Regions from separate parts of the Homo sapiens genome. Here all the other regions are linked to region 5. Evidence: promoter capture Hi-C in 16 types of primary human blood cells and fetal thymus (Javierre and others, 2016). All regions are on one chromosome and are shown on one strand. The core of a region is centred on a gene start or on the middle of the fragment in contact, and the rest is flanking DNA. Distances in the headings are between cores, read along the strand shown.

Region 1 (3,755 bases), core at 626-3,125, 270 kb before region 5:
TTTCCATATCTTGACTATTGTGAATAATGCTGGAGTGAACATAGCAGGGCAGCCATCTCTTCAAGATCCTGCTTCTATTTCCTTCAGATACATACTCAGAAGTGAGACTGTTAGATCATATGATAGTTCTATTCTTAATTTTTTGAGGAACCTGCATACTGTGTTCCTATTTTTTAAGCCATGCAATTGGAAACGCACTGTTTTTCATAATGACTGTAGCAGTCTGTATCCCCACCAGCAGTATATAAGGGTTCCTGTTTCTTCATATCCTCACAACCACTTGTTATCTTTTGACTTTCTGACATTAGACATTCTAACAGGTGTGAGGTGATATCTCATTGTGGATTTTATTTGCAGTTTTCTTGATGATTAGTGATATTGAACACCTTTTAATATACGTATTGGCCATTGTTATGTCTTCTTTGGAGAAATGTCTATTCAGGTCTTTTGCCCAGTTTTAAATCAGGTTATTTGTTTTTCTAATATTGAGTCATATGAGTCCCTTATATATTTTGGATATTAACCCCTTATTGTATACAAAATATTGCAAATATTTTCTACTGTGGCCTTTTCAGTTTGTTGATTGTTTCCTTTGCTATGCAGAAGCTTTTTAGTTTGATGCAGTCCCACTTGTTTTTGCTTTTGTTACTCATGCTTTAGATGTCATATCCAAAAAATCATTCTTCTAGGAGTTTTACGGTTTCAGGTCTTACATTTAAGTCTAATCCATTTTCAGTAGACTTTTGTGCATAGTGTAAGATAGGGTCCAATTTTATCCTTTTTCATGTGGCTATCCAGTTTTCTCCATACCATTGATTGAAGAGACTGTCGCTTCCCTATTCTGTATTCTTGGTGCTTTGTTGAAGATAAGTTGATCATATATGCATGGGTTTATTTCTAGGATCCTTATTCTGTTTTATGGATCTATTTTTCTGTTTTTATGCCAGTACCATACTGTATTGATTACTATAGCTTTGTAGTATAATTCAAAATCAGAAAGTGTGTTGTCTCAGCAGGTGCAGTGGCTTGCACCTGCAATCCCAGCTATTCAGAAGGCTGAAGTCAGAGGATCACTTGAGGTTAAGAGTTTGAGACCAGCCTAGGCAACATATTGAGACTCAGTCTCTACAAATAAAAATAAAAAATAAAACAAAATAAGAAGCCAGGCATGGTAGCACATGCCTGGAGTACCAGCTGCTTGGGAGGCTGAGGCAAGAGGATAGCTGGAGCCCAGGAATTTGAGGCTGCAGTGAGCTACGATTGTGCCAGCCTGGATGACAGGGCTAGACTATATACATTTTTAAAAATCCTTTTATCCAATTTCCTGACTTTTGTTGGGATGCAGGAATTGAAGTTCTATTATTTTCACATGATTTGGAATTTATATATTTTATTTGTAGTTCTACATTTTGTTTGTATGTTCTTTACCATACAAATTAAACTTATTTTTTTCTCATTTATATTGTTAAAAATAACTTCTTCCTAGCCAGGTGTGGTAGCTCACACCTGTAATCCCAGCACTTTGGGAGGCCAAGGCGGGCAAATCACCTGAGGTCAAGAGTTCAAGACCAGCCTGGCCAACATGGTGAAACCTTGTCTACTAAAGATACAAAAATTAGCCAGGCATGGTGGCAGGCACCTATAATCCTAGCTACTCGGGAGGCTGAGGCAGGAGAATTGCTTGAACCCAGGAGGCAGAGGTTGCAGTGAGCCAAGATCATAATGTTACACTCCAGCCTGGGCAACAAGAGCAAGACTCTGTCTCAAAAAAACTAAAAAAATTTTAAAAACCCTCTTCTTGATAAGAAAAGAACCTTAGCATGCTTTTTATTTTTGCCATTCCACCCATGTTGATATCATCTGTGGTTTTCATTTCAAATTATTATTAATTTTTTACAATTAACATTTACTTAGATTCAACTTTTTTTGCTTTTAATGGTTACAATCATACTAATTTTTCTTGTTTTTTCTTTTTTCTGAAGTGATTCTTCTAATAATTTGCCTATAAAGTATCTGTTAAATGATAAACTTTGAGTCTTTTTATATCTGAATATTTCTTCATTTTACGCTCACCTTTGAATGAGAGAGTCGCTGTCTGCAGAATTTTAGATTTCAAAATTATTTCCTCATCAAAATGGGGACTTAAGATCTGTGCATAGGCCAGGCACAGTGGCTCATGCCTATAATCTCAGTACTTTGGGAAACCAACACAAGTGGATCACTTGGGCCCAGGAGTTCAAGACCAGCCTGGGCAATATTGCAAGATCTCATCTGTACTAAATATTAAAAAATTAGTCAGGTGTGGCAGCATGTGCCTGTAGTCCCAGCTTACTCTGAAGGCTGAGGTGGGAGGATCACCTGAGGCCAGGGAGGCGGAGGCTGCAGTGAGCCATGATTGTGCCACTGCACTCCAGCCTGGATGACAGAGTGAGACCTTGTCTCAAAAAGAAAAAAAAAAGATATGTGCATATTATTATAGTAAATATGCTTCAATTAAAGAAAATCCCCCTGAACTTTGAAGATATTGTTCTATTGTCATTCTGTACCAAGTATTGCTGAGAAAAAGCCTACTGATAATGTGATTCTAATACTTTTGTGTGTGATCTGTTTTGGGGTGTTTTTTTTTTCTTCTTGGGTTTTCTGTTTATCCCTGGTACTCTGAAATGTCACCAGTATGTGTCAAAATGAAAGTCTTTTCTTCACTTATTCTGTTTGGCAACTGGGGGGCTTTTTCAATCTGAAAAGCTATGTCTTTCTTCAATTCTGAGAAATTGTTCTTTTATTTTTATTTCTGGTAGAGATGGGAGTCTTATATGTTGGCCAGGCTGGTCTTGAACTCCTGGCCACAAGCGATCCTCCCACCTTGGCCTCCCAAAGTGCTGGGATTATAGGCATGAGCCACCATGCCCAGCTCTAATCTTTCTTTGAGTTTCTCTTTTGTCCATTTTCTCTATTTTTTTCTTCTGGAATTCACATTGGATGGTTATTTGAACTTCATCTATTCTGTTTATTCTCTTTTTATATATTTCATCTCTTGTTAATTTTGGAATGCATTCTGGTTGATTCCAGATCATTAATACATTTTTCAGCTACATACTTTCTGCTACTCACTCTATCAAATAAGTTATTTTAAATTTTAATAGTCAAGCTTCTAATTCCAAAGGTATCTAGATTTTTCAATGCAATATCCTTTCATATGTGATTATAGTTATCCTAAAGCCCAGGTTTGTATGCTTTATTAACCCTATTTTTTCAGGTATGAACTCCTTTTGCTGTCAGTCCTTTCCATCATGATATTCACTTTTTTCAAATATTTGGCTTTTCTTGGCTGTGAGTTCACCTTTGGATCTGAAATTCCTTGTTAGCCTAAGTGGCCTGCTTGCAGACAGGTGCAGGACATGCAGCTATGACTTGGTGTACCTGTGTAAAGTGGAATGAAGGGATGGGATGTGCTGCTGGGCAGCATGAGCCAATGGTGAAACTTCCAGATGTGGAAGCTTCCTGCTATCCTTGGGAGCTGTTAATCTCTGGGGCTTTGTCTTGCCTCACACCCAATTGTTCACCTCTCACTGATCCTGCCCATGGGAAGACACCTCTGTGACTCACTGTGTGGCCTGAGGTGAACATTCCTGGCTGTCTATTCTGTGAGCCTCTACCAGTCACGGTCAGTCGATCATGGACCACCTGCGGTTCCCAGTTCACAAGTCCTGAGTTTGAAGCATTCCTAGAGCTGCTCTCACCTTTTGCGGCAGTCC
Region 2 (4,220 bases), core at 386-2,885, 310 kb before region 5:
GCCTGTCATGCCTGTAATTGCAGCACTTTGGGAGGCCAAGGCGAGCGGATCATGAAGTCAGGAGTTCGAGACCAGCCTGACCAACATAGTGAAACCCCATCTCTACTAAAAATACAAAACTTCGCCATGTGTGGTGGTGCATGCCTGTAATCCCAGCTACTCAGGAGGCTGAGACAGGAGAATCACTTGAACCCAGGAGGTGGAGGTTGCAGTGAGCCAAGATCGCACCACTGCACTCCAGCCTGGGTGACAGAGCGAGACTCCCTCTCAAAAAGAAAAAAATCATACATAGTGTATTTTTTTTATATCAGACCTTGTAATTTTCATCTATAGATGTACAGTTTACATTCTTTCTGTGCCTTCCATATTTCCACTTAACAGGATCAGTCTTCCTTCTTCCTTTTTGTACCTGTGGAATACAGTGATAATTATAGTTTTTAAAGTTGCTTTCTACTAGTTGCATCATCTGTGTCATTTCTTGATTAGTTTTGATTGAGCAATTTTTCTGTTGATTAGGAGTATAACATTAAGTAACTCAAGCTTAAAATAATTCAAACTTAAAGCTATTGGAACTTTAAATTATCCTGAGCCTTGCAGGCCTTTGGCTACACAGCCTCAGTGAGGCAGTATGCAGCTGCAACTCCTGCCTTTTTTTCCCTCTGTAAGTAATTAAGACCAAACGGCACCAGAAATCAGACCCCGTCAAATCACTCCTCCCCGTCATGGAGTAATGAAGAATCTTCCTTGGAATGTAGCAATCTGCACCAATCAAATCACTGTGGCATCTGTACCTGGTCTCGTATGGAAACTGCAATCCTGCTGGAGCTTTTCTGTCTCTGTCCACTTAAGCAAAACTGTAACTCTTCCACTTTGGAAACACTGACTCCTTTTGTGTGGAGTTGGTGCTTTCCTGGGTGGATATCCTCAAGCTTTGCTCTTGAATAAACTCTGCACTTAATTAGATTCTGTAAATCTCATTATTTAAGATCGACAGAAGTCATATTTTTATTGTTTCTTTTTGTGCCTGATAAATTGTGATTGGATGATAGACATTTTGAATCTCACGTTGCTAGTGGCTGGATTTGTTCATATTCCTTTATTTTATTTTTAAATTGTTATGTTTTAAAATCTCTAGCCCTGGTTGAGCGTGGTGGCTCACGCCTGTAATCCCAGCACTTTGGGAGGCCAAGGTAGGCAGATCACGAGGTCAAGAGATTGAAACCATGCTGGCCAAAATGGTGAAACCCTGTCTCTACTAAAAATACAAAAGTTAGCTGGGCGTGGTGGTGCATGCCTGTGGTCTCAGCTCCTTGGGAGGCTGAGGCAGAAGAATCGCTTGAACCAGGGAGACTGAGGTTGCAGTGAGCTGAGACTGCACCACTGCACTCCAGCCTGGGCATGCAGCCAGACTCCGTCTCAAAAAATAAATAAATAAATAAATAAAATAAAATAAAATAAAATAAAATCTCTAGCCCTATATTATAACACATTCCTTTAAATATTCTCCCATTGTGTTTTGGGATGCACACAAGTAACATGGAAACAGTTGTTTTTTTCCTTTTATGCTTGATTAAGTGTGGCCAGCAGCTTTTAGTCTAGGTCTAATTTTGCCCCACTCAGTTAAAGACCTTCTGAATAATTTACCCAATCCCTCATGAATTATGAAGTTTTATATTCTTGCTGGTGGGAACTGAAACTCTTTCTGACTATATTATCCCAGGACTGTTTCCTGTAATCCTTTCTGGTGGTTCTTTCTAACACTTTTGGAGAGAAGAAAGCTATACATGAAATTACAATTACACATGTAAATTTCTTACATGCACGCACTGACCAGTGCTCAGACCTCCAGAGCTCTATGTCTTTCTCCCTTCCTACTCTGTCCTGTGAATTCCAATCTGCTCAGATTCCCAGCTCAGTCCTCTCAATTCTAGGAGCCTTGGATCCTATCTGGCTTCCTCCTTCCTGCATGAGGCCTGGAAACTCCGGGCAGTCAGCAGGTCAATCACAGGGCTCATATCTTTTATTTTTTATCTTTCAGGGATGACTGTCTTTGTTGTCTGATGTCCAACATCTTCCAAGCCTTTGTTATCTGTATTTTTGTAACCACAGGACCAGTTCTAATGCCCTATGTGGTCTCCCAACTGCAGGGACATTTCTAGCTAGCCCTATTGTGTTGATAACAGGTTGTCAAGTTACTTTACAAGCACAGAGTCAAGAAAGTGCACATCATGCAGCCAGAGTGCGGGCAGAAAAGGAGACTTCAACCTCAACACCCAGAACTAAAGCCTGGCCACACTCCCTAGAAACCATAGATCAGGACATAGTTGGAACCCCAACATGGAAAGCTTTGAAAAGCGAGCGGTCCATCAGAGCCCAGGAATGTCTGGTGATAAGACCTCTCCTCGTGCCTTCCCATAAATAGTCTTGTTTGAAGTCTTTCCAATCAAAACCTGCCCTGCCAGTGCTTCTGCATACCAACCTGTCCTCTGTAGTCCACGAAAGCTGCCCCAAACCACAAACTGGGGAGACCAACTTGAGCCCATCTACTATCTCCTTGCTCAGCTGCCTTCCGATAAACCTTTCTCTCTAAAAAATCTGATGCTTTGGTGCTGGGCTTTCCATTGCAAATGAGCAAATGGAGCCCGTTCAGTTCTGCAATATTTTGAATATTTTGTCTCTTTTTTGTTTGTTTGTTTGTTTGTTTGTTTACATTGTTTCTGGAGGGAGGGTAATCTAGTCCCTGTTATTCCATTTTGGAAGCATAAGTCTCCACTGGTTGATGTTAACCAAGCCAACTAAATTTGCTAGAAAATGATTCCAAGTACAAATGAGTAGTCCTATCGGTCATGGAGGCCCCCTGTGCTGGAAAACACTGCCTCCAAGAGGGCTTCCTTCTGCTTAGTCTCCAGCCACTGCCCCCTTGAAGTTCAATTTCAAGGTCTCAGTGATGTCAGTGTTCCAAACTCAGAAATGAATCTACTGAGTAGCCAGCCATAGCTACCACTAGTTTGGCTTGATTCTATGCCTGGTCTTAGAGTGTTCACATGTATTAGCTCATTGTTTTAGTCTGTTTTATGTTGCTATAAAGGAATACCTGAGACTTGGTGATTTGTAAAGAAAAGAGGTTTATTTGGCAGATGGTTCTGCAGGCTGTACAAGCATGGCATCAGCATCTGCTTGGCTTCTGGTGTGGCTTCAGGAAGCTTTTACTCATAGTGGAAAGTGAAGGGGAGCAGGAGTGTCACATGGCAAGAGAGAGAGCAAAAAAGAGAAAGGAGGTGCTAAGCTCCTTTAAACCACCAGCCCTCACGTGAACTAATAGAGAACCCACTCATCACCAAGAGGATGGCACCAAGCCATTCTTGAGGGATCCGCCCCCATGACCCAACATCTCCCACCAGGCCCCACGTCCAGCATTGGAGATCACATTTCAACATGAGAGCTGCAGGGACAAATATCCAAACTATATCACTCATGAACTCTCACAATATCCTCAAGATGCAGATACTGTTATGTATTTATTTTCAACTGAGAACACTGAGCCTCAGAGGGGCTAAGTAACATGATGGAGGTTACATGGCTAGCAACCCCAGATCTGCCACTTCCTAGCTATGTGCCCTTCACTGCAACAAGGTGTGCATGTCATAGGGTTGTGAGGACAAGGTTAATTCAGTGCTTAACTCATAGTTGGTGCTCAGTAAATGCTAGTTATATCATTACTGCATGTGGCTGCAAGATCAAGTCCATTAGGTAGACTGTTAGAGCAGGGGACTTTTGGACTATCTGTGCCAAGGAGTCCTAATGAGACTTGCAGCCTGGGAAGGTCATTTTCCTCTGGGAACCTTCCACTGGGCTCTAAAGACCACCTTCGGTTTGCACCCTTTCACTCCCTCCTCACCCTCATGCTCCTAAGAGCTCACCCTCCCAGCCTCAGCCCAGAGCCCAGAGTGTGCTACTCCCCATCACCTCAGTCCACTGCTCCTGGGCCTGACAACCTTGGCCTCACCTTCTGGAACAGCTGCCTCCCAGGGCTTCCACCTCTTTGTATCTGTTCCCTGCTTAACCTCCCTCCGGCAGAGTTCCAGTCTCAGGCATCCTTGCCGTCCAGCTCCCAGCATGCCACGGTAGCCTTAATAACAGCTTCATTGAATGAGTAATTGGGAACATGTGTACTGAGAAGTCAAGCCCTCCCGCCACTGAGGACAGTTCAACCCTCATGC
Region 3 (4,200 bases), core at 1,669-4,168, 350 kb before region 5:
CAATGAAGCTTTTCTTTTCTCAAAGCTGGAGCAGCAGTGTTGGCTTCTGTGCAGTCAGGCAGCAAGCCCATTTGCTCGGTAATAGCTGGAGTGAGAGTACTGAGACAGTAGAGATAAGACTTGGCTTCAGCTCAGCCCCACTACAGCATTCCCACGGATCACAAAACCCACACCACTACCCCACGATGCCATAATGTTTAACCATGCCGCTTACTTAAAGAACTCTGGCCAGGCGCAGTGGCTCACATGTGTAATCCTAGCATTTTGAGAGGCGAGGCAGGCGGATCGCTTGAGTCTGTAAGTTTTAGACCTGCTTGGGCAACATGACAAAACCCCGTCTCTCCAAAAAAATACAAAAATTAGCTGAGCATAGTGACAAACACGTGTAGTCCCAGCTACTCAGGAGTCTGAGGTGGGAGGATCACTTGAGCCCAGGGAGGTCAAGTCTGCAGTGAGTCATGATGGTGCCATTGTACTCCAGCCTGGCAACACAGCAAGACCCTGTCTCAAAAAAAAGAAAAAAAAAAATTCCAGGAACTGGCCTGAGGAGATAACCAAGGTTGCACAGTGTCGCATCCCAGGAAGGAATTCTGAACAATTGATTTAAAGCTTTGTTGCTACCAGCCAGACCACCAGGTGGCCCATTATTATTAATGGGTCATGGTTATCCTGACCATGAAAACCATGGCAATCAAATATGCTGACCTGCACACCCTACCCCTTATGAGGTCTGCCCGGCTCAGCCTGCTCGCCCTACCCCTGATATTAGTTCCTATGCTTTGTCTAATAAAAAAATCTCCACCAGCTCTTTTTGGAGAGTCAGTCAGGAAATTCTCTCTCTCTCTCTCCCTCTCTCTCTCTCTGTCTCTCTCTCTTTCTGTCGCTCTCTCTGCCTTTCTCTCACTGTCTTTCTGTCTCTCTCTGTCTCTGTCCTTCTGTCTCTTTCTCTGTCTTTCTGTCTTTTTCTCTGTCTCTGTCTCTCTCTGTCTCTCACTCTCTGTCTCTCCGTCACTCTCTCTCTCTGTCTCTCTATCACTCTCTCTCTCTCTCTCTCTCTCTCTCTCCTCTCTAGTGCTGCCTCCCTTATGTCCAGGCATAAGCTCTAATGAAGCCTCGTCTGGGAAAACTCTTTTGGCCTCATGTCAATTTCTTTTACATCCAGAGCCAACAGCCTGTGGTGGGTAATCGTCCCTTCTCTAATTACTTGCCCAGCATCTACCAAGCAGGCCCTGTCAGCGGGAGTCCTGCCTGCACTCCTCCCGGGGCGGATGCTCTCCTCTTGGCTAGCCCAGACAGGTGCCCTTGGGGCTCCCCGCCAGGCAGGCACTGACCTCCCGCGGTCCAGCCACCTCCTGCTCTCAGGGATGCCCCAGCCGGATCTCAGCCCAGCAATCCCGGGTCTCCAGCCTGCCGCTCCACCCTGGGCTGCCTCCTGACTGTTAACACATGACATTGACAGGGACTGTCTCTGTTATGGGTTGAATGTTTGTGTTCCCCCAAAGGAAACGAGAATATTTCACCCCAAAATATACCTCTTTGGCTTATTTTGAGATGGCTATTCAGAGAGGCTGCAAACAGAAGAAGGACTTTGAAAAGCTGCCTTTCGTGAGGGAGAGTTGCACCTGGAGAGAAAATCTATGTTAGTGAAATCAATGCCCAGGCTTTCCCTGAGGACCCTGTAAGCAAGTGGGGTGCAGGGGTGAGGGGGTTGGGGGATCTCAAAGGATTATAGGAATTTAATCAACTTAAGCAATCAGCCTGTTTTGGGTTTTTTTGTTTTGTTTTGTTTTTTGTTTTTTTTGAGACAGAGTCTCGCTCTTTCACTCAGGCTGGAGTGCCAGGCTGGAGTGTGATCTCGGTTCACTGCGAACTCCACCTCCCTGGTTCAAGGATTTCTCCTGCCTCAGCCTCCCGAGTAGCTGGGACTACAGGCTCGTGCTACCACGCCCAGCTAATTTTTGTATTTTTAGTAGAGACAGGGTTTCACCATGTTGACCAGGCTGGTCTTGAACTCCTGACCTCAGGTGATCCACCCACCTTGGCCTCTCAAAGTGTTAGATTACAGGCTTGAACCCCCACGCCCAGCCTATCAGCCTGTTTTACAGCCTCCTGCCCTGCAGCCTGTTTCTTCCAAGCCCTGTTTAGAATGCAGTCACCCACTTGATTCAAACCAGCTCCCAACAGACCCTAGCAACTTACAGATGAACCCAAGTGACCTTTCTTGTTACCATGCTAAAGTCTCCACCCCAGGAAGGGCTGCAGCTCAGCTCCATCACCATCACATGCGACCTATGTGCTGGCATGAGGATCACTGCGTCTGCACCTCTGGGACCCCTCCTCCACATGCGAAGACACATCCTCTCCCCCTCCATCGCCCCATGAAACCCTCCTGTCACTTTCCCTCAGGGGACACTGCCTTGGAGAATACTCCCAGGGTTCTACCTACTTGGGCCAGGTAATAAAACTTTTATTGATCAAAACCTGCATCCTCATGGAGAGTCATTTGTTACTCACCAGGCAAACAAACCCGGTTTTGGGGGTAATGCCTCCCTTATCTGAATCTAGGAAAGATTAACTCAGGAAAATAAACACTGAAGTCTGACACTTTTAAAGGTCTCAGAGAGAATCTTTTACCAAAGGCCACCATCTATTCTTTCTGAGGGCAGCTCTGAGTTTACCTGGGATTTTTTTTTTTTTTTTTTTTTCTCTTTTTCGGGACAGGGTCTTGCTGTGTTGCTCAGGCTGGAGGGCAGTAGTGCAATGAGAGCTCACTGCAGCCTCAAACTCCCAGGCTCTATAGATCCTCCCACCTTAGCCTCCTGAGTAGCTGGGACTACAGGTGCACACCACCATGCCCAGCTAATTTTTAAAAATTATTTTCAGAGATGGTATCTCGCTATGTTGCTAGGGCTGGTCTCAAACTCCTGGGCTCAAGCGATTCTCCTGCCTCAGTCTCCCAAAGTGCTGGGATTACAGGCATTAGCCACAATGTCCGGCTGAGGGATATTTTCATCTGCACCACAAGACAGCCTTTGTTAGACACACTTTCCCATAACCTGTGTCCCTCTATAACCTCAGGATGATGTAAAAACTTCAGTGGCCTGGCCCCTTCTTTGAGTCTTATATTTTGTATGTGTCTCTTCTGTTCATATGCATGTCAATAAATTTGTACATTCACACCAAAAAAATTATATTCCTTTTTTTCCTGTTTTGTTTTTTTTTTTTTTTTTTTTTTTTTTTTCAGACGGAGTCTTGCTCTGTCACCCAGGCTGGAGTGCAGTGGCGCAATCTCGGCTCGGCTCACTGCAACCTCTGCCTCCCCGGTTCAAGTGATTCTCCTGCCTCAGCCTCCCTAGTAGCTAAGATTACACGCCCAGCTAATTTTTGTATTTATAGTAAAGATGGGGTTTCACCATGTTGGCCAGACTGGTCTTGAACTCCTGACCTCAAGTGATCCTCCCTCCTCGGCCTCCCAAAGTGCTGGGATTACAGGCGTGAGCCACTGAGCCCAACCGTTTTTTCCTATTGATCTGTCTTTTGTTACAGAGGTGTCCCAGCTAGGAACTTATGAGGGTTGAGAAAAGAAATTATACATTTTTTTCTCCCCTTCACCTCCAAATTCCTATGTTGATGCCCTCACCACCAATGTGACTACATTGGGAGATAGGGCCTATAAGGAAGCAATAAGGGTTAAACGAGGTGAGGTCGAGGGTGGGACCCTGTTCTGCAGGATTAGTGACCTTGTAAGAAGAGACACCACGGCTGGGCACGGTGGTTCACGTCTTTATTCCAACACTTTGGGAGGCCAAGGGAGGAGGATCGCTTGAGTTCAGGAGTTTAAGACAAGCCTGGGCACCATGCTGAAACTTCATCTCTACTAAAAAGTACAAAAATTAGCTGGGTGTGGTGGCATGCACCTGTAACCCCAGCTAGTCAAGAGTCTGAGGCACGAATATCGCTTGAACCTGGGAGGCAGAGGCTGCAGTGAGCTGAGATCGCACCACTGTGTCAGAGGCGTGTTAACCAGAGCAACTCCATCTTGACTAAGAGCTGGGTAAAATGAGGCAGAACCCTACTGGGCTGCATTCCCAGGCAGTTAAGGCATTCTAAGTCACAGGATGAGATAGGCGGTCAGCACAAGATACAGGTCATGAAGACCTTGCCGATAAAACAGTTTGCAGAAAAGAAGCTGGCTAAATC
Region 4 (3,664 bases), core at 421-2,920, 330 kb after region 5:
ACCTTGTGATCCGCCCACCTCGGCCTCCCAAATTGTTGGTATTACAGGAGTGAGCCACGGCGCCCGGCCTGATTTAATTCTTGACGCTTGTGGAAGGTAGGTACTGTTAGTCCCATTTTACAGATGAAACAGTTAAGGCTTAAAGCGGTTAAGGGATTTGCCCAAGGTTACACAGTCTTAAAGCTAGGAGGGGAGGGAGCTGGGATGTGAATCCAAGTCCAGGTGACATTGAAGTCCTTGGTTCAGAAGCCTGTAATGCAAGCAAGAAAATCTAGCTTCAGCCCCATCTTCCTACCAAGGACATTTTAACCCAGAATGTTGTGGTGAGAAGTGGGGACCTTCCATAGGAAATCCTCCAAAGGCCCTAAAGATTGTAGTGAGAAGTAGGGACCTCCCACAGGAGATCCTCCAGAGGCCCTGCAAACAGCCATGCGTGGGGAAACTACAGGCGCTCTCTGGCTATTGCCTCAGGGACGAGGCTGGTTACCAGCTCTCCAAGAGAACTCCAGGCCCCATTGACTGTTCCCTTCCCACATGACACACACATGCAGGTTCATTCCAACCTTACAGCAATCCCCTCAGGTAAAGCGCCCTCACTTTACAGAAGAGGACACTGAGACTCAAAGGGATGACGTCAGGTGCCCAAGGTACTAGTCAGAAAGTGGCCCTGGGGCTTCTGCAACAACCACTATGTCACACAGTCCGAGCTCAATCCAACTCTGCAAGAGTCCATAAGCAAAGGGGCGGCGACGTGAGGTGGAAACAGTAGCCTGAAACGTGGGTGTGCACGTCGGATCCCATCCCACCGTCCACTCGCCTGGAAACCCCCAGTTTCCCCATATGCCCAGCTTCGTCCCCTGCAATTAGTGAGGGCTCACATGGGTCCGCCCCATCCGTGTGGTCGGAAACGGCCGGGAACCTGGTTCTAGTTCTGCCCTCCGCGGGAGACCTGCGCCAGGGACACCCTTCTGGCCTAACCCAGCCAGGCCTGGTCTACCTGGCGGCGGCGGCGGCGGCAGCCGGTCCTCCTGCGCTGAGTTAGGGCTCGCGGGGCGGGAGGTCAAGGGCAGCGGGCGCCTGAGCACTGGCACCAGTCACCGCATCCAGCCGGGGAACTACAGCAGCGGCGAAGTCACTGCCGCTCGGTGCGCACTCCAGCGAGAAGCGGGCGCGTCCTGTGACGTCACAGGCAACCACCCCTAGCAGGGCACCAATCCCGGAGGGCGGGCCCAGTGCGGGGCGGGCGGCGCCGGGGGCTCTTCAGGCTCAGGGCATAGGCAGGCGGCGGCCGCGTTTTCTGGAGACGGTCGCTCTCGGAGGGACCCTGCAATTGCCCGAGACCGAGAGTGGGCGCTGCCTGAAAGTTTGTCCCTGGGCGCTTCGCTGGCCTCATCCGGTCTCGGCCTTGTTCTGGGCCTGGCGCCTTTCCCATTGTTGGGGAAAGTGGTCTAGGAGACCAAGGCAGCGTGCTGGGTGGGAGAGAATGATTTGTGGCTTCTGATTCTGACATATGTCGTTAAGGAGGGGAGGGATGAGTGACCCTGTTTTACTTATGGAGAACCTGGGGCCAGAGCTGTTTTCCCAGGGTGACACAGGCGGTGAGTAGTGGAGCTGGCATTCCTGACCCCAAAGCTCAGCGTTTCCCAGCCACTCTCCGCAGCCAGGCCTTCACCTGCACTGCTGGGCGCAGGTGGGGAAGTGGGGAAACGGTGCTCCATCCCCTGCAGAGGGCAGGCGTGCGGGGAGCGGTGGCTGAACTCCACAGACAGCTACTGCTCAGCTCTTCAGCTGCCGGCTTTGAAGAGTGTGAGGGGCTCTGGGCAAGAGGCCCCCACATTACTCAAGGACCAGATCATCAAGAGCTTTACTTGTCCCACAAAGGAGTCTGGACCTCGTTTAAGTGCACAGGAGACCGCTGGAAGGTCCTCAGTGGCGTGCCATGGCCCGACTTCTATTTGAGAAGTTTTTCTCTGGCCACCCGTCTAAGGAAAGGTATCTGGGTGGGTGGTGCGGGTGAGAACAATGGTGGTGCGGTGCTTGGCGGAGAAGGTGAGTGTCCAGAGATGTTCAGGAAGAAGAACTGACAGCTCTGGATGACAGGAGGTGGAAGTGAGAAGGAAGCAGGTACAAGGCCGGCTCCTGGGTCTCTAGCCCGGTAGGTGCAGGGCCGTTCATGGAGACAGGGCTTCTGGAGGAGCAGCGGGTCTGGGGAGATGATAGTGAGCTCCAATTTGCATGGGACATCCAAAGGGCATTGAACGGTGGGCAGTTGGAGACGTGGGTCTGGAGCTTGGGACTTCAGCCTAGCTTGCAGAAAGTCACCACTGATATAGAAATGGAACCTATGGCCGGGTGCGGTGGCTCACACCTGTAATCCCAGCACTTTGGGAGGCCAAGGTGGGCGAATCAGATCAGGAGATCGAGACCATCCCGGCCAACATTATGAAACGCCGTCTCCACTAAATATACAAAAAATTAGCCGGGCGTGTTGGCGGGCGCCTGTAGTCCCAGCTATTCGGGAGGCTGAGGCAGGAGAATGGCCTGAACCCGGGAGGCAGAGCTTGCAGTGAGCCCAGATCACACCACTGGGGAACAGAGCGAGACTCTGTCTCAAAAAAAAAAAAAAAAAAAAAAAGAAATGGAGCCTATGGGGGTGGCTGTGATCAGGGGGATGTGCTGAGGAGAACCTGGCGTAAGTGTTTCATTAAGCCATAGCTCCCAAAGACTTTCTGAAAAGCTAAGTTACAGCCTGAAAGAAAAGATCTTCAGAGGCTATATTTGATAAAAGACTTGTATCCAGAATATAGAAAGAGCACTTAAAATCAATAGATAAAATCAAACAATTCAATTTTTTAAATGGACAAAATATTTAAACAGACACTTCACCAAAGAAGATATACAGATAGAAAATTGAAAGACATGAAAAGATGCTCAACATCATTAATAATTAAGGATATGCAAATTACAAGCACAGTGTGACACCGTCTCACACCTACTAGAATGGACAAAGAAGACTGATTATACCAAGTATTCGAAAGAATGTGGAGGACCTGGGATTCTTGTACACTGCTTATGGGATTATAAAATAGTATCACTACAATTGAAAATCATTTGGCAGTGTATGAAGAGAGTTAAACATACTCCTACCATATGACCTAGCCATTTCAATCCTAACTATTGACAGTATTGAGTTGCACCTTAGCCCTTTGCTCCTAGAAATAGTGAAGATTAAGGAATCCCTCCACTCCTTTGTTCCAGAAAACACCCTACTGGAAAGAACCAGTGACTTTCCATATAGCTTGGATAAGAATCCTGAATGTCCCCTCATGACCAGACCATACACAGACCCTCTAAATTCCCATTCTTGGCATCATAAATGATTAGCTGGACTGCTTGTTCCCACAGATCAATAAGAACAAAATGCCTGTAACCAAACCTTGGTTCAGATTCTCTCCTTCTCCAAGCCCCTGAGCTTTGGCCCACCCGCAGCTTGTGCCAACCCACCGCCCTCCTGAGGGTCCCTCCTGAGAACAGGCTATCTGCATGGTAAGACCTGCTCGATCATGACACTCTTGCTCAGCTCACTTTCCCATAACAGTTCTTTCTAGCCACGTTTACGCCTCCCTATACAAGGTCAGCCCTTTGCCTAACCTCTGAGACACTT
Region 5 (3,957 bases), core at 375-2,874:
AAAAACTGACCTGCTGGGCACTCACTGCAAAGTATCCGCTATGAGTGGGGCCCCTACTAGCAACATACTTCTCCAGGCTGGCCTAGTTTACAGAACCCTCAATCCCAGCTAACAGGGCTTTCTTGAGTCAGGGCCTCTCTGCTACCACACCTCCTCCCACAACATTGTGTGATCCTTTCTGTTTAGGCTCCTTCCGTTTGGTACTGATTGCTGCTTTTATTAGCAAACATTACACCAAAATGAAAATAAATACAAGTGTCAGTGCGGGAAGGGAGTAAAGTGGGTTCTGTGTCTTCAGTACTGGCAAAAGATTTGCTGTGAGACCTGGTGGTCAACCCAGTACCTGATCTTCTCTGTGCACCTGTGCAATTATTGTAAGGATGTTTATCTGTCTGTCTTCTTCCCCCTCACAGGGCGGGCAGCTGTGGTCTTCCTTATACACCCTACTGACACAGGGCTAGGGCCATTCAGGAAGCAGTCATTTCAGGGATAGGCCCACTGCCGCGCCTGCCTGCTCATGTCCACAAGCAGCTGCCCAGCTGATCAATCACCACAATTTGGGGTTAGGAGTTTGGTCCTGGAAGGCAGGTAGCAACAACTACTACCTAGCCAAAGAATATTCTAAAGAGCTGTCCTGTCATGTTCAATGTCTAGGTCCACAATCCCGCAAGCTTAGCGAAGTAATGCTCTGTCATTCTTACCCCCATTTACAGATGGAGAAATGGGCTGGGAGATGACAGTATGGAGGCACCAGGATTTTTGTCTCGGCTCAATTTCTGCATCTCTAAATGGAAATAATTCTACTAACTCTGAGGGTTGTTGGGGGGATTTAATGAATATATGTGTTTACTTGTTTATCTCCTGTTTTCTGTTCTAGACTGTAAACCCCAATGGGCAGCGACTTTGGCTTGTTCACTGCTCTATTGTCAGAGCCTAGAACAAGTGCCTGGTACAAAGTAGGTGTTCAATAAATATCTATGCCTAAATGGAAGAGACAGGAGAGAAGTCTAGGCCAGAGCCTGCCCCTTCTATAACCTTAGTTCCCCAGATTTGCCTTCCACATCAGGCAGCCACTGGTTGATGGAAGCATCGTCGGGCTGGGGCTGGGGCTGGGGTAACCTACTTCTGGCCTTAGGACAAGGTCGGCAAAAATCTCAGCAGTGAGGAGGCCAGAAAAGTCTCCAAGGGGCAGGCTGCAATGCCAGCCTAAGCCCTCAGGTTTCCTTTTTCTTTTTCTACATCAGGAAAAGCACTTTTCTCGCCCTGCCTGCAGAGCGGGCCACCCCTAGCTGCAGGTGAGGGACGGGAGAGGAGCCTCCCACGTGCGGCCGTGCGAGGCCGAGGAACAGGAACGGCGTAGCTAGGAGACCAGGTCCCGGAGAAGGAGAGCTGGCCCCACTGGCAGAGAAAGGCGGGGAAGGGCGCGGAGGCGGAGCACTGGGCGGGTACCCGCTGGCGGCTCTCGCGCGGCGGCGCTGCTCCACCTTAAGCGACTGTACCCCCTTAAGGGCGGGCGCTCAAGCAGCGAGCCCCGGGGGCGGGGCCTCCAATGCAAATGAGGGGCGTGGGCAGGCGGGGCGGGGCGGGCGGGGCGCTGACCTGACGTCAGGCTCGCGGCCCGGGCAGTTGGCTCGGCGGCAGCGGAGCGGCCGGAGCTGCGGTGCGGACCGGGGCCGCGCGGCGTGGCGCGGGGAGCGGCGGCGGCGGCAGAGCCAGAGCAACATGGCGCCGGTGGGCGGGGGCGGGCGCCCGGTCGGCGGACCGGCCCGCGGGCGCCTCCTCCTGGCGGCGCCGGTGCTGCTGGTGCTGCTGTGGGCGCTGGGGGCCCGGGGCCAGGGCAGCCCCCAGCAGGGCACGATCGTGGGCATGAGGCTGGCGAGCTGCAACAAGTCGTGTGGGACGAACCCGGATGGCATCATCTTCGTGTCCGAGGGCAGCACCGTGAACCTGAGGCTGTACGGCTACAGCCTGGGCAACATCTCCAGCAACCTGATCTCCTTCACCGAGGTGGACGATGCCGAGACCCTCCACAAGTCCACCAGCTGCCTCGAGCTCACCAAGGACCTGGTCGTCCAGCAGCTGGTCAACGTGAGCCGCGGGAACACGTCCGGCGTGCTGGTGGTGCTCACCAAGTTCCTCCGGAGGAGCGAGAGCATGAAGCTGTATGCACTGTGCACCCGGGCCCAGCCCGACGGGCCCTGGCTGAAGTGGACGGACAAGGACTCACTGCTCTTCATGGTGGAGGAGCCTGGGAGGTTCCTGCCTCTCTGGCTGCACATTCTCCTAATTACGGTGCTGCTGGTGCTGTCGGGCATATTTTCTGGCCTCAACCTCGGGCTTATGGCCCTGGACCCCATGGAGCTGCGCATCGTGCAGAACTGTGGCACCGAGAAGGAGAGGCGCTATGCCCGCAAGATTGAGCCCATCCGGCGCAAGGGCAACTACCTTCTCTGCTCGTTGCTCCTAGGGAACGTGCTGGTCAACACCTCCCTCACAATCCTTCTAGACAACCTCATCGGGTCCGGCCTCATGGCGGTGGCCTCCTCCACCATTGGCATTGTCATCTTTGGGGAGATCCTACCTCAGGCCCTGTGCTCCCGACATGGGCTGGCTGTGGGTGCCAACACCATCCTTCTCACCAAATTCTTTATGCTACTCACCTTCCCCCTCAGTTTTCCCATTAGCAAGCTCCTGGACTTTTTTCTGGGCCAGGAGATTCGCACTGTTTACAACCGGGAGAAGCTGATGGAGATGTTGAAGGTGACGGAGCCCTATAATGACCTCGTGAAAGAGGAGCTCAATATGATCCAGGGTGCCCTGGAACTACGGACCAAAACTGTAGAGGATATCATGACCCAGCTCCAGGACTGCTTCATGATCCGCAGCGATGCCATCCTGGACTTCAACACCATGTCGGAGATAATGGAAAGCGGCTATACTCGCATCCCGGTGTTCGAAGACGAGCAGTCCAATATTGTAGATATTCTCTACGTCAAAGACTTGGCCTTTGTGGACCCCGATGACTGCACCCCCCTCAAGACTATCACTCGCTTCTATAACCACCCGGTGCACTTTGTCTTCCATGACACCAAGTTGGATGCCATGCTGGAGGAGTTCAAGAAGGGTAAGGCCAGATGTAGTTCCCCTGGTTCAATTTCCTCTTGACGCCTCTTTTCCCCTGGCGTGTTTTGTGTCTGCTGGCTTTAGTGTTCTGTTTGTGTGACTCTGTGTCCCTTTGCCTATCGCTTCCTATGCTTCTGAGGTGAACGATTTTGGAGCGGTAGACCCATTCTCAAGTGTCTGCCGTCTGCCAGGTAGTGTGCTGTGTGCTCCTGATGAATCAAAGCTGAATAAGACATACTCGCTCCCTTGGAGGGCTGGAGCAAGACCTCAGGGAGCTATTGAAGCAAGACAGAGTAAGACAGATGCCTGAAAAGAGGCCAGGGCGATGGAGATTTAGAGTATGGGGTGGAGTCAGGAAGGGGCTGGGAAATTGGGGAATCCACAGGGGAAGGAGCATTTGAGGAGAATCTTAAAAGGTAGAGAGGCTTGCTGCTTGAGGCAGAGGGAACCCCGCAAGCAGAGAACCGGAGTGGAGAAGCAAAAGTGTGCTTGTGGCCCAGCAGGTGGTCCTGTTTGGTGGGTATAGTGGCTCTGATGCTTAGTGGTCAATGGCTGGAGTAGTTTGGGGCCCGGTGGTGGACGCTAAGTTTGCTCCCAGCTTGGGAGCTACAGGTTTTTGAGCAGGGGAGTCATGTTACTGGAGGTGCTAGCCCACAGAAGCAGAATTGGGAGGTCTCTAATTGGCTCGCTTCTCAGAACAATGCCAAGTAGCGCTTTCGACTATTCAGCAGAAGCAAGCAGATTAAGTTTTGGTAATTGTGGCGCCAGCGTAAGCTTCCCTCCAGTGGTCTGCTGGAAATCTTCAGCTGCCTTGCACTGCCTTGTGTTTTTTTC
Region 6 (4,249 bases), core at 1,456-3,955, 330 kb before region 5:
CTGTACCGACAATTGTCTTGGTAAATTCTTTTACCACCCACACCACCAGCCCCAGCTAGTTGCTATCCATGACATTTGGGTGGCCCATATGAAGACTCTCTCTTCTTACAGGAAACCCTCTCCCCTCTCTCTTTCCCAACCCAGGGCCCTCGGTGGACAGCGTCTAAGCATGGAGACAACTGAAGGTCTCTGGCCGAAGTTACACTCTGGTGGGACTGAAAGGTGTCCATATGAAAGTGTCTAACTGCCACCACCCATCAGGTGAGGGACCTAAGTTTATTTTCTCTTTTCAGTCTTCCAGCAGCCGGCTGCTAGTATCCCTCTAGCAACTAACAGCAACCAGCTGGGGCTGCTACTCAGTGTTGCCTAAAGGCCAAAGGGTGAACAGGGTTGGCTGCCTTGCCTGTGATGGAGGAAAATTCCCTCTTCTCTCTTTTCTGGCCAAAGGTCCCTAATCCCTATGTATGACATGACTGGCAGCGGTAGCTCATTCAGAGTGACTTCACACACATTTTGGGTGACTCATATCCTCTCTTTCTCACTCTAAATTCTCCTGTGGAGTCACCCAGTCATCTTGCTCTGGATGTTGCTAAATCAGGTGATCCCAGACAGCCTCAGAATGGTACATCTTTCTTTACCCACCCCCTCTCCTGGACTGGCACCAAGCCAAGTTGTTCCTTTACCCTTTTTCCTCATACCTGGGTTAATCACCCAGCATAACAGCATACCTGGACTGGCCATCTGGCATAAGGCACCAGCATGAAGAGGTCTTTTCTAATGGGTGGGACACCCCTTTAGAAAGTGCACCTGAGGCCAGGCGAGGTGGCTCACACCTGTAATCTCAGCATTTTGGGAGGCCGAGGCAAGCAGATCACGATGTCAGGAGTTCAAGTCCAGTCTGACCAACATGGTGAAACCCCATCTCTACTAAAGATACAAAAAATTAGCTGAGCGCGGTGGCGTATGCCTGTAACTCTAGCTACTGGGGAGGCTGAGGCAGGAGAATCACTTGAACCCAGGAGGTAGAGGTTGCAGTGAGCTGAGATCCCCCCATTGCACTCCAGCCTGGGTGACAAGGCGAGACTCCATCTCAAAAAAAAAAAAGAAAGAAAAAAAGAAAATGCACCCAAGTCCCTAAGCAGACATGAGTGAAACCCTTTTCCTCAGTGGGATGCCCCAAGAGAATGTGTGGTTCATGTCCCCAGGAGATGTTAGCCCTGAGTGGCTCATTTTCCAGTCCTTCCGTCGGACCCATCTATTCCTTCAAACTCACTTCTAGGCTGCATTCCAAAGCACTGGGACAAATTCAACCCCCAAACCCTCAAAAAGGAAGGTCTAATTTTCTTGTGAAATAAAGCATGGCCCCTCTGCAGAAAATCCTCAAATTAGTCTCCTCAGTCTTTTGTAACCAAGAGCAGAATAAGGAGGACAGGGCTAAGGAGAAAGAAAAATACAGGGACAAAAGGCAAGCTCAACTGTTGGCTGCTGTACAAGCCCCAGCCCCTCCCCATAGCTCTAAGGAAACTTCTCCAGGTAGTTGCCAGGCCACTGGAAGGCAAACTACCCCAATGGGATAAATGGGAAAAAGCTCTACATGGCTCTGCCACAAGCTCAGCCACTGGAAATGAAGCTTCCTTGAGGGCTGAAGTGCCTCCAGGATGGAATTCCAACCCTTGGTGGCCTTGAACTGAAGGGGCTCTCTGCTCCAGCTGCTTCCAAATCAGACACCACCATCAACACAACAAAACCAAGGGCAACTCTGAAGGTGGCAAGTGAAATTATAAATTTCCCTTTTAAGTTCAAAAGCTACTTACTCTGTACTAATCTTCCCTGAACAACTCTCCTCCAAATTCTGTCAGGTAATGAGGGCAAGCAGCACCTGCTCCCTCCCCCAAAAAATTCACACCCCTTTATATTACTTAAGGAACCAACGACCTTTCTCCCAACAGTCCCTATAGTATCTAAATAACCCAAACTCCTTTGGGACAAAAATATACTTTCCAAAATGGGTGCCTGCTTAATATTTACCCAACTTCTGAATTCATCTTTCCCTCTAATAGCCCTATTTCTCCCAGGAATGCCAGCTAAATCTTTAACCAATAACCTTCACCTAGATAGTCTTACCTCCAGGGTTAAAAATAGCCCACACTTATTCAGACAAACCCTAGCAAGAAATCTAACCAAGCAATCTCTAAGGGGGACTAACTTCTACAGTGTGTAGATCACCTCCTCATTTGCTCCCCCTTCACAGAACTCACACAGCAATGTGCAGTACAAACCTTAACTTCTTAACTAAAGGAAAATAATTGTTGTCTAATCCAAAAGCTATTTAAAAGTTATAGTTGTTCTAACATTGGTTCCCTACATTGAAACAAAATTTTCTTAAGGTATTAATGATGGCAGCAGTGGGCCATCTGGAGTTGACACTGCCATCACACAAGCTGCAGCAGGGAGGCATGGCTGGGGCTTCATGCTCAATGAAGCCAGTAAAGTGGGGGACAAGCAGGAGCCCTACCCCTTCTGAGTTGAAGCAGGAGCTCCTTGGATGCAGCTGCAGCCACCCAAGACACAGTTCCAGTTCCAGACATCCCTGTGCTCCCACTCCATGGAGCAAGCAAGAGCCCTGACCCTGGGATACAGCTGCAGCTGCCCAAACTACACCTGTGGACCTAGGCATCCCTGCACTCTTGGGGGCCCAAGAAGGCCCCCACTGCCCTTGCAGGCTTGGAAGTGCCTGCTCCCACTGCCTGGCTTCTCCCTGCTGTCAGTGCCTGCTCCAATCTTGGAGCAAAGTTGGGGCTGAGCCTGGGCATTGTTGCAGCCTGGCTGGGTGTGCACACACTTGGGGCAGTGCTGACACACCAGGCCCCTGTTACCTCAGAACCCTCCAGATTTTGGGTGCGGATGAGCATGGAAGGGAAGCCAAGGCAGGACTGAGGCCAGCTCAGCAGCGCTGGCCTGCAGGCAGCCTTTGGTATGAACAGCCTGGGCACCATGAACCACAGCAGGAGGCAGACAGCCTCCTGGGCAGAAGGGGGCAAGTCCCAATGAAGCCCCACCTTCAGTCCAGGGAGGGCCTGAAGGCTGGAGGCCAGGCTGCCAGTCCCACGGACTGGAGTGGGAACTTACAGTGCCTTTTCCAGGCCTGCCCATGGCCACCCATGGACCAACTGCTGTGCACTTCCTCCCCTGCAGGCCCATAAAATCCCCAGGCTCAGCCAAACTTGGGCAGATATCAGTATGACCAGCTGCAGAGAGGAGCTACCCACTCCAGGGCCTCCTCTCTGCTGAGAGCTGGGGAGATGACGGGATGATCTGCCTGCAGAGAGGAGCAACCCACTCCAGGGCCTCCTCTCTGCTGAGAGCTGCAGAGACAATGGGATGACCTGCCTGCAGAGAGGAACTTCCTATTCCAGGGTCCCCTCTCTGCCAGGAGCTGAACACTAGTGGGGACAGCCTGGTTGCAGAAAGGAGCTGCCCCCTGCTCATGTGGGAGACTGAGTTGTTCTATCACTCAATAAAGCTCCTCTTTGTTTTGCTCACCCTCCACCTGTCTGTGTACCTCATTCTTCCTTGTCACAGGATAAGAACTTGGGACCTGTTGAATGGTGGGGCTAAAAGAGCATTAACACAAACAGGCCTGAGACATGTCCCTTGCTCACCACATCACGGGGAAAGAGAAGGAGAGAAGAGCTGTGGCCCTTTGAGGAGCCCAGACTTGGGAGCTCCCTGAGCCAGGGCTGTGACTCCCTCTTTGGGCCCCTATGGTTCTTGGTGTCTCCAAGCTTCTGGGTGCCACCATGTACCCTGATGCCCACCATGGAAGTTGCCTGCAGTACACCTGGTCCAGCTGTAGCCTCGCGGAGAGCTGGCCCCCATGCTGGCACCTGGAACTGTCCATCCTGTTGCAGTAGCTGGCATGTCTGACTGTGCGCAGTGGCTGGACCCCATTCTCACTCACACACCCCTTGCTGTTCCATGCCTGACTTGCCCTTGGCAGGCGTGGGACCCAGGCCAGTAACATGAGCCGAGTGCAGCCTGCCAGGCCGAGTGACTGGAACAAGCCCAACAGGCCCAAACAAAACTCAGGCAAAGGTGCCACCAGCCACAGAGGTTTCTGGCCAGAAAAAGCAACACCCCAAAGATCCCATAACATTAATCTACTCTTAATAAAATTGCAAGAAATTTTAGTTTTAATTTTATAAATTAAAAGTATAAATTTTATAAATGTCTTTTTAAAACTTCTCAA
Region 7 (4,174 bases), core at 1,017-3,516, 400 kb before region 5:
CCAGTCAGCAGTTAGCCAAGGAAAAGAAATGCCAGTCACAGCCCTGTTGTGTCTCTTAATAAGCCGAGGAAGCATACAGATGAGCCAGCCTCCTGGTTGGTCAGTTTGCCTGGCCTGGGATGAAGGGACAGTGAAAATGGAAGCCTCTGAGTGAGGAGAGTGAGTACTGGAGTCAGGAGAACTGGACTCCCAGCCTCACACTGCTCCCTAGTATCCACATGACTTCACTCAGTGGTCACGGGTGGGCATGACCCCCGGGCACTAGAGGGCACACAGGAGCTACTGCACATGTTGGCATTCTGTAGAACTCCAAAGGGCTGTGCTGACCTTATGTGTTTTGCATTGTCTCTTTGAAAGAAAGGGATAAGCATCTGTTGTTTTATGTTTTGTTTTGCTTTTGAGACAGGGTCTCACACTGTCACCCAGGCTGAAGTGCAGTGGTGAATCATGGCTTACTGCAGCCTTGACCTCCTGGGCTTAAGCGTCCTCCCACCTCAGCCTTCTGAATAGCTGGGACTGCAAGGGCATGCCAGCATGCTCAGTTAATTTTTAAATTTTCCATAGTGATGGGATCCCGCTTTGTTGCCTAGGCTGGTCTCGACTCCTGGCCTCAAGTGATCCTCCTGCCTTAGCCTCCCAAAGTGTTGGGATTACAGGCATGAGCCACTGCACCTGGCCAAGCATATGTTTCTGATGTGTTTTCTTAGCCAAAACACAAATTATAAGTTTAGGATGAAAAGAGGGTGTGTGATTGAGCACTCCTACTGTTGTGATGCTCAGACACAATGCTGCCTTGTGGTTTTGATAAGCCTTGATAAGGCTGTCAGCAGATCTTGTGAAATGAGTAAATAGTTTAGGCCACAGAAGTGAAGTGCTGACGTCTGTGTTCACTCTGCAGAAGATGCTCCTTCCCAATCAGAAAACAAAAAGAAGAGTACAAAAAAAGATTTTGAAATTGACTTTGAAGATGATATTGACTTTGATGTATATTTTAGAAAAACAAAGGTTTGTACTGAATTTATTAGGATTGTGCTTACTCGTTTTTCCCTTTCAGATGTGATTTTTTAAAATTCCGTATAAATTTAACTGTTAGAGCAAACAGATGGTTTCATTCTTCCTTGTTCCTTAAACGCACTATTAAGAAATAGTCCTAAACTCAGTGGCAGAAAGAATCAAATTTAGAATAAAAAGAATAATGCTAGCAAAATCACTTTTTTACATAGAACTGTGAGACTGATGGTAGACTCATGCTGCCCAAACCCTTCCCAGACTGCTTTAAAAAAAGTAAGATGTTTTGCCCACTGTTAAAATGCCTAAAACACTTTTTTTAAAAAAATTAATAGGCTGCTACTATTCTGACCAAGTCCACTTTGGAGAACCAGAATTGGAGAGCTACCACCCTTCCTACAGATTTCAACTACAATGTTGACACTCTGGTCCAGCTTCACCTCAAACCAGGCACCAGGGTAAGCCTATTTCTTGGTTCCTTTAAGCACACAAGGTATCAAGTGGCTGATAGTATGACAGTTAGGCAGTGCCTTTGAGGAAAAGGGAGAATGTGAGGAGTGGTATGTGTTAGCCAAAGCGTGTTGCCAGGAAATCAAATAGATAAGGCAAAGAAAGCTAAAAGGAAAGGCTTATATGATGGACACACAGTAAACACTTGGAAATACCTTACCTGGCAAGAATGCTGGATACTGAAGCCTCCATGCTGAAATTCAGGGGGGCAGTGAGTGTAGTTTTTTGGTGAAGTTTCAACAGTTTTTAAGTTATTTCTTGATTCCTTTGCTTTCTCCTTTTTTTTTTTTTTTTTTTTTTTTTTGACAGAGTTTCGCTCTTGTTGCCCTAGGCTGGAGTGCAATGGTGCAGTCTTGGCTCACTGCAACCTCTCCCTCCTGGGTTCAAGCAATTCTCCTGCCTCAGCCTCCCAAGTAACTGGGATTACAGGTGCCTGCCACCATACCCAGTGAATTTTTTGTAGTTTTAACAGGGACAGGGTTTCACTATGTTGGCCAGGCTAGTCTCGAACTCCTGACCTCAGGCGATCCACCCACCTCAGCCTCCCAAAGTGCCAGGATTATAGGTGTGAGCCACTGTGCCCACCTGATTCCTTGGCTTTCTCATTGAAGTTGTGGATTTACTCACCAATTGCTTTATACAGTGAGGTTGCCTTACTCATGATCCAAGTCGAAGCGAGCCCAAGGTGACACACGGGCTCACATCCTCAGGAAGTCTCCTAGGGCTCTACAGGCTGCTGGGGCTCCTTCTGAGATTGTCACATGGAGCCTTCTGAATTACCTGGTGTTGCACCCTGATTACTGCCTCCTTCATTTGCCTGGGGCTCTTCTCACATGTCCCTGCTGACAGGGTAAGCAGTGGTTCGTGTAAACCATTCCATTCACATCCTCTGCTTACTTGCATTACTGGTTCTCCTACTCTCATGGAGTGTATTAAGACTTTATACTTTCCTCTTTATTTTGCCTGTTTTTCCACAAGATTTTAATGATATATATATATATATATACATATATATATATACACATATATATGTATATATATGTGTATATATATATATATATATATATTTTTTTTTTTTTTTCCCTGAATTGACTGATATTACACATTCTATTTGTTTTTTTGTATTTTTTTTTAGAGACAGGGTCTTGCTCTGTTGCCCAGGCCATAGTCCAGTGGTGTAATTGGAGCTCATTGTAACTTTGAACTCCTGGATTCAAGCAGTCATCCTGCCTCAGCCTCCCAAAGTACAGGGATTACAGGCGTGAGCCGTTACACCTGGCCTCACATTCTGTTTTTATAAACTAACCAAGATATGTTTTTCTTTCTGATCAATATTGTTTACTTCAATAGAAATACTCTTTTTTTTTCAGTCCTAGCTACTTGGGGGCCTGAGGCTATAGTAAGCTATGATCATGCCAGTGCACTCCAGCCTGGGGGACAAAGTGAGGCCTCATCTCAGAAAAGCAAAACAAAAAAAAAATTGTGATTCATGAGAGGGGGTCAAAATATCAACATTAACAGGAGTTTGGAAGAAGTTGATTCTGACTCTTATGGATGATTTTGAGGGGTTCAAGACTTCAGTGGAGGCCAGTCACGATGGCTCACGCCTGTAATCCTAGCACTTTGGGAGGCCGAGGTGGGTGGATCGCTTGAGGCTAGGAGTTTGAGACCAGCCTGAGCAACATGGCGAAACCCCGTCTCTACTAAAAATACAAAAATTAGCCAGACATGGTAGTGCAGGCCTATAGTCCTGGCTACTCAGGAGGGTGAGGCACGAGAATCACTGGAACCCAAGAGGTGGAGGTTGCAGTGAACTGAGATTACAGTACACTGCACTCCAGCCTGGGTGACAGAGCAAGACTCTGTCTCAAAAAGACTTCAGTGGAGGAAGTCATTGCAGATGTGGTATGCAGATGTGGTAGAAATAGCAAGAGAACCAGAATGAGAAATGGAGCCTGATGATGTGACTACATTGGTACAATATCCTGATAAAACTTGAATGGATGAGAAGTTGTTTCCTATGGATGAGCAAAGAACATTTTCTTGAGATGGAATTTACTCCTGGTGAAGATGCTGTGAACATTGTTGAAATGATAAAAAAAAAAGATTTAGAATGTTACATAGTCTTAGTTGATATAGCAGTGGCAGTGTTTGAAAAGATTGACTTTGAATTTGAAAGAAGCTCCGCTATGGATAAAATGCTATCAAACAGCATTGTATGCTTCAGAGAAATCTTTAGTGACAGGAAGAGTTGATTGATGTAGCAAACTTCATTGTTGTCTTATTTTAAGAAATTGTCGCAGCCACCCCATCCTTCAGCAACCACCACCCACCCTGACAGTCAGTAGCCATCAACATTGAGGCAAGACCCTTTAACAGCAAAAATATTACAACTCACTGAAGGCTGATATGATCATTATAATTTTTTAGCAATGAAATATTTTTAATTAAGGTATGTAAATTGTTTTTTAGACATATACTGTTGCACACTTAATAGACTCCAGCATAGTATAAGCATAACTTTTAAATTTGTGTGACTGGAAGTGCCTGTATTAAACACTGGACATTTGGCTAGGGACACCTGAGAGTGTGCCCAGAGGAGAGTATTCTAAATGAAGATGCAGTTAGAAGTTGTGTCATATGAAGAACAGTGGAA

What was found. The method cuts DNA at HindIII sites, captures the fragments that hold promoters and counts their contacts. A CHiCAGO score of 5 or more calls a contact.
Region 1: a contact is called between a fragment that was not itself captured here and the fragment with the promoter of CNNM4 in region 5, in 4 of 17 cell types (non-activated CD4 T cells, erythroblasts, naive CD8 T cells and 1 more). The highest score is 7.0, in non-activated CD4 T cells.
Region 2: a fragment that was not itself captured here is called in contact with the fragment with the promoter of CNNM4 in region 5 in 1 of 17 cell types (non-activated CD4 T cells); the score reaches 5.0 in non-activated CD4 T cells.
Region 3: a contact is called between a fragment that was not itself captured here and the fragment with the promoter of CNNM4 in region 5, in 10 of 17 cell types (naive CD8 T cells, naive CD4 T cells, total CD8 T cells and 7 more). The highest score is 12.2, in naive CD8 T cells.
Region 4: a fragment that was not itself captured here is called in contact with the fragment with the promoter of CNNM4 in region 5 in 1 of 17 cell types (non-activated CD4 T cells); the score reaches 5.0 in non-activated CD4 T cells.
Region 6: a fragment that was not itself captured here is called in contact with the fragment with the promoter of CNNM4 in region 5 in 1 of 17 cell types (total CD4 T cells); the score reaches 5.1 in total CD4 T cells.
Region 7: a fragment that was not itself captured here is called in contact with the fragment with the promoter of CNNM4 in region 5 in 1 of 17 cell types (naive CD4 T cells); the score reaches 5.3 in naive CD4 T cells.

Annotation. Positions count from the first base shown.
Region 1 is chr2:96,489,674-96,493,428 of GRCh38, forward strand. No RefSeq gene overlaps it. Among named protein-coding and RNA genes, the nearest start is that of NEURL3, 14 kb to the right of the region's middle. RefSeq lists an enhancer at 3,303-3,755. The HindIII fragment of the contact is 2,542 bases long and covers 605-3,146 here.
Region 2 is chr2:96,447,446-96,451,665 of GRCh38, forward strand. No RefSeq gene overlaps it. Among named protein-coding and RNA genes, the nearest start is that of NEURL3, 56 kb to the right of the region's middle. The HindIII fragment of the contact is 1,416 bases long and covers 928-2,343 here.
Region 3 is chr2:96,408,742-96,412,941 of GRCh38, forward strand. No RefSeq gene overlaps it. Among named protein-coding and RNA genes, the nearest start is that of NCAPH, 75 kb to the left of the region's middle. The HindIII fragment of the contact is 4,622 bases long and covers 608-4,200 here.
Region 4 is chr2:97,093,704-97,097,367 of GRCh38, forward strand. FAHD2B (fumarylacetoacetate hydrolase domain containing 2B) reads right to left here and starts at 1,179. Exons shown (of 9, transcript NM_001320848.2): 1 at 998-1,179. The HindIII fragment of the contact is 5,521 bases long and covers 1-3,664 here.
Region 5 is chr2:96,759,278-96,763,234 of GRCh38, forward strand. CNNM4 (cyclin and CBS domain divalent metal cation transport mediator 4) reads left to right here and starts at 1,625. Exons shown (of 7, transcript NM_020184.4): 1 at 1,625-3,124. The coding sequence starts at 1,723. RefSeq lists enhancers at 1,063-1,112, 1,672-2,261, 2,133-2,382, 2,262-2,850 and silencers at 1,443-1,862, 1,986-2,169. The HindIII fragment of the contact is 3,226 bases long and covers 670-3,895 here.
Region 6 is chr2:96,427,553-96,431,801 of GRCh38, forward strand. No RefSeq gene overlaps it. Among named protein-coding and RNA genes, the nearest start is that of NEURL3, 76 kb to the right of the region's middle. RefSeq lists an enhancer at 1-1,103. The HindIII fragment of the contact is 2,155 bases long and covers 1,629-3,783 here.
Region 7 is chr2:96,359,245-96,363,418 of GRCh38, forward strand. NCAPH (non-SMC condensin I complex subunit H) reads left to right here. Exons shown (of 18, transcript NM_015341.5): 11 at 899-1,005; 12 at 1,344-1,466. Among named protein-coding and RNA genes, the nearest start is that of NCAPH, 26 kb to the left of the region's middle. The HindIII fragment of the contact is 7,104 bases long and covers 1-4,174 here.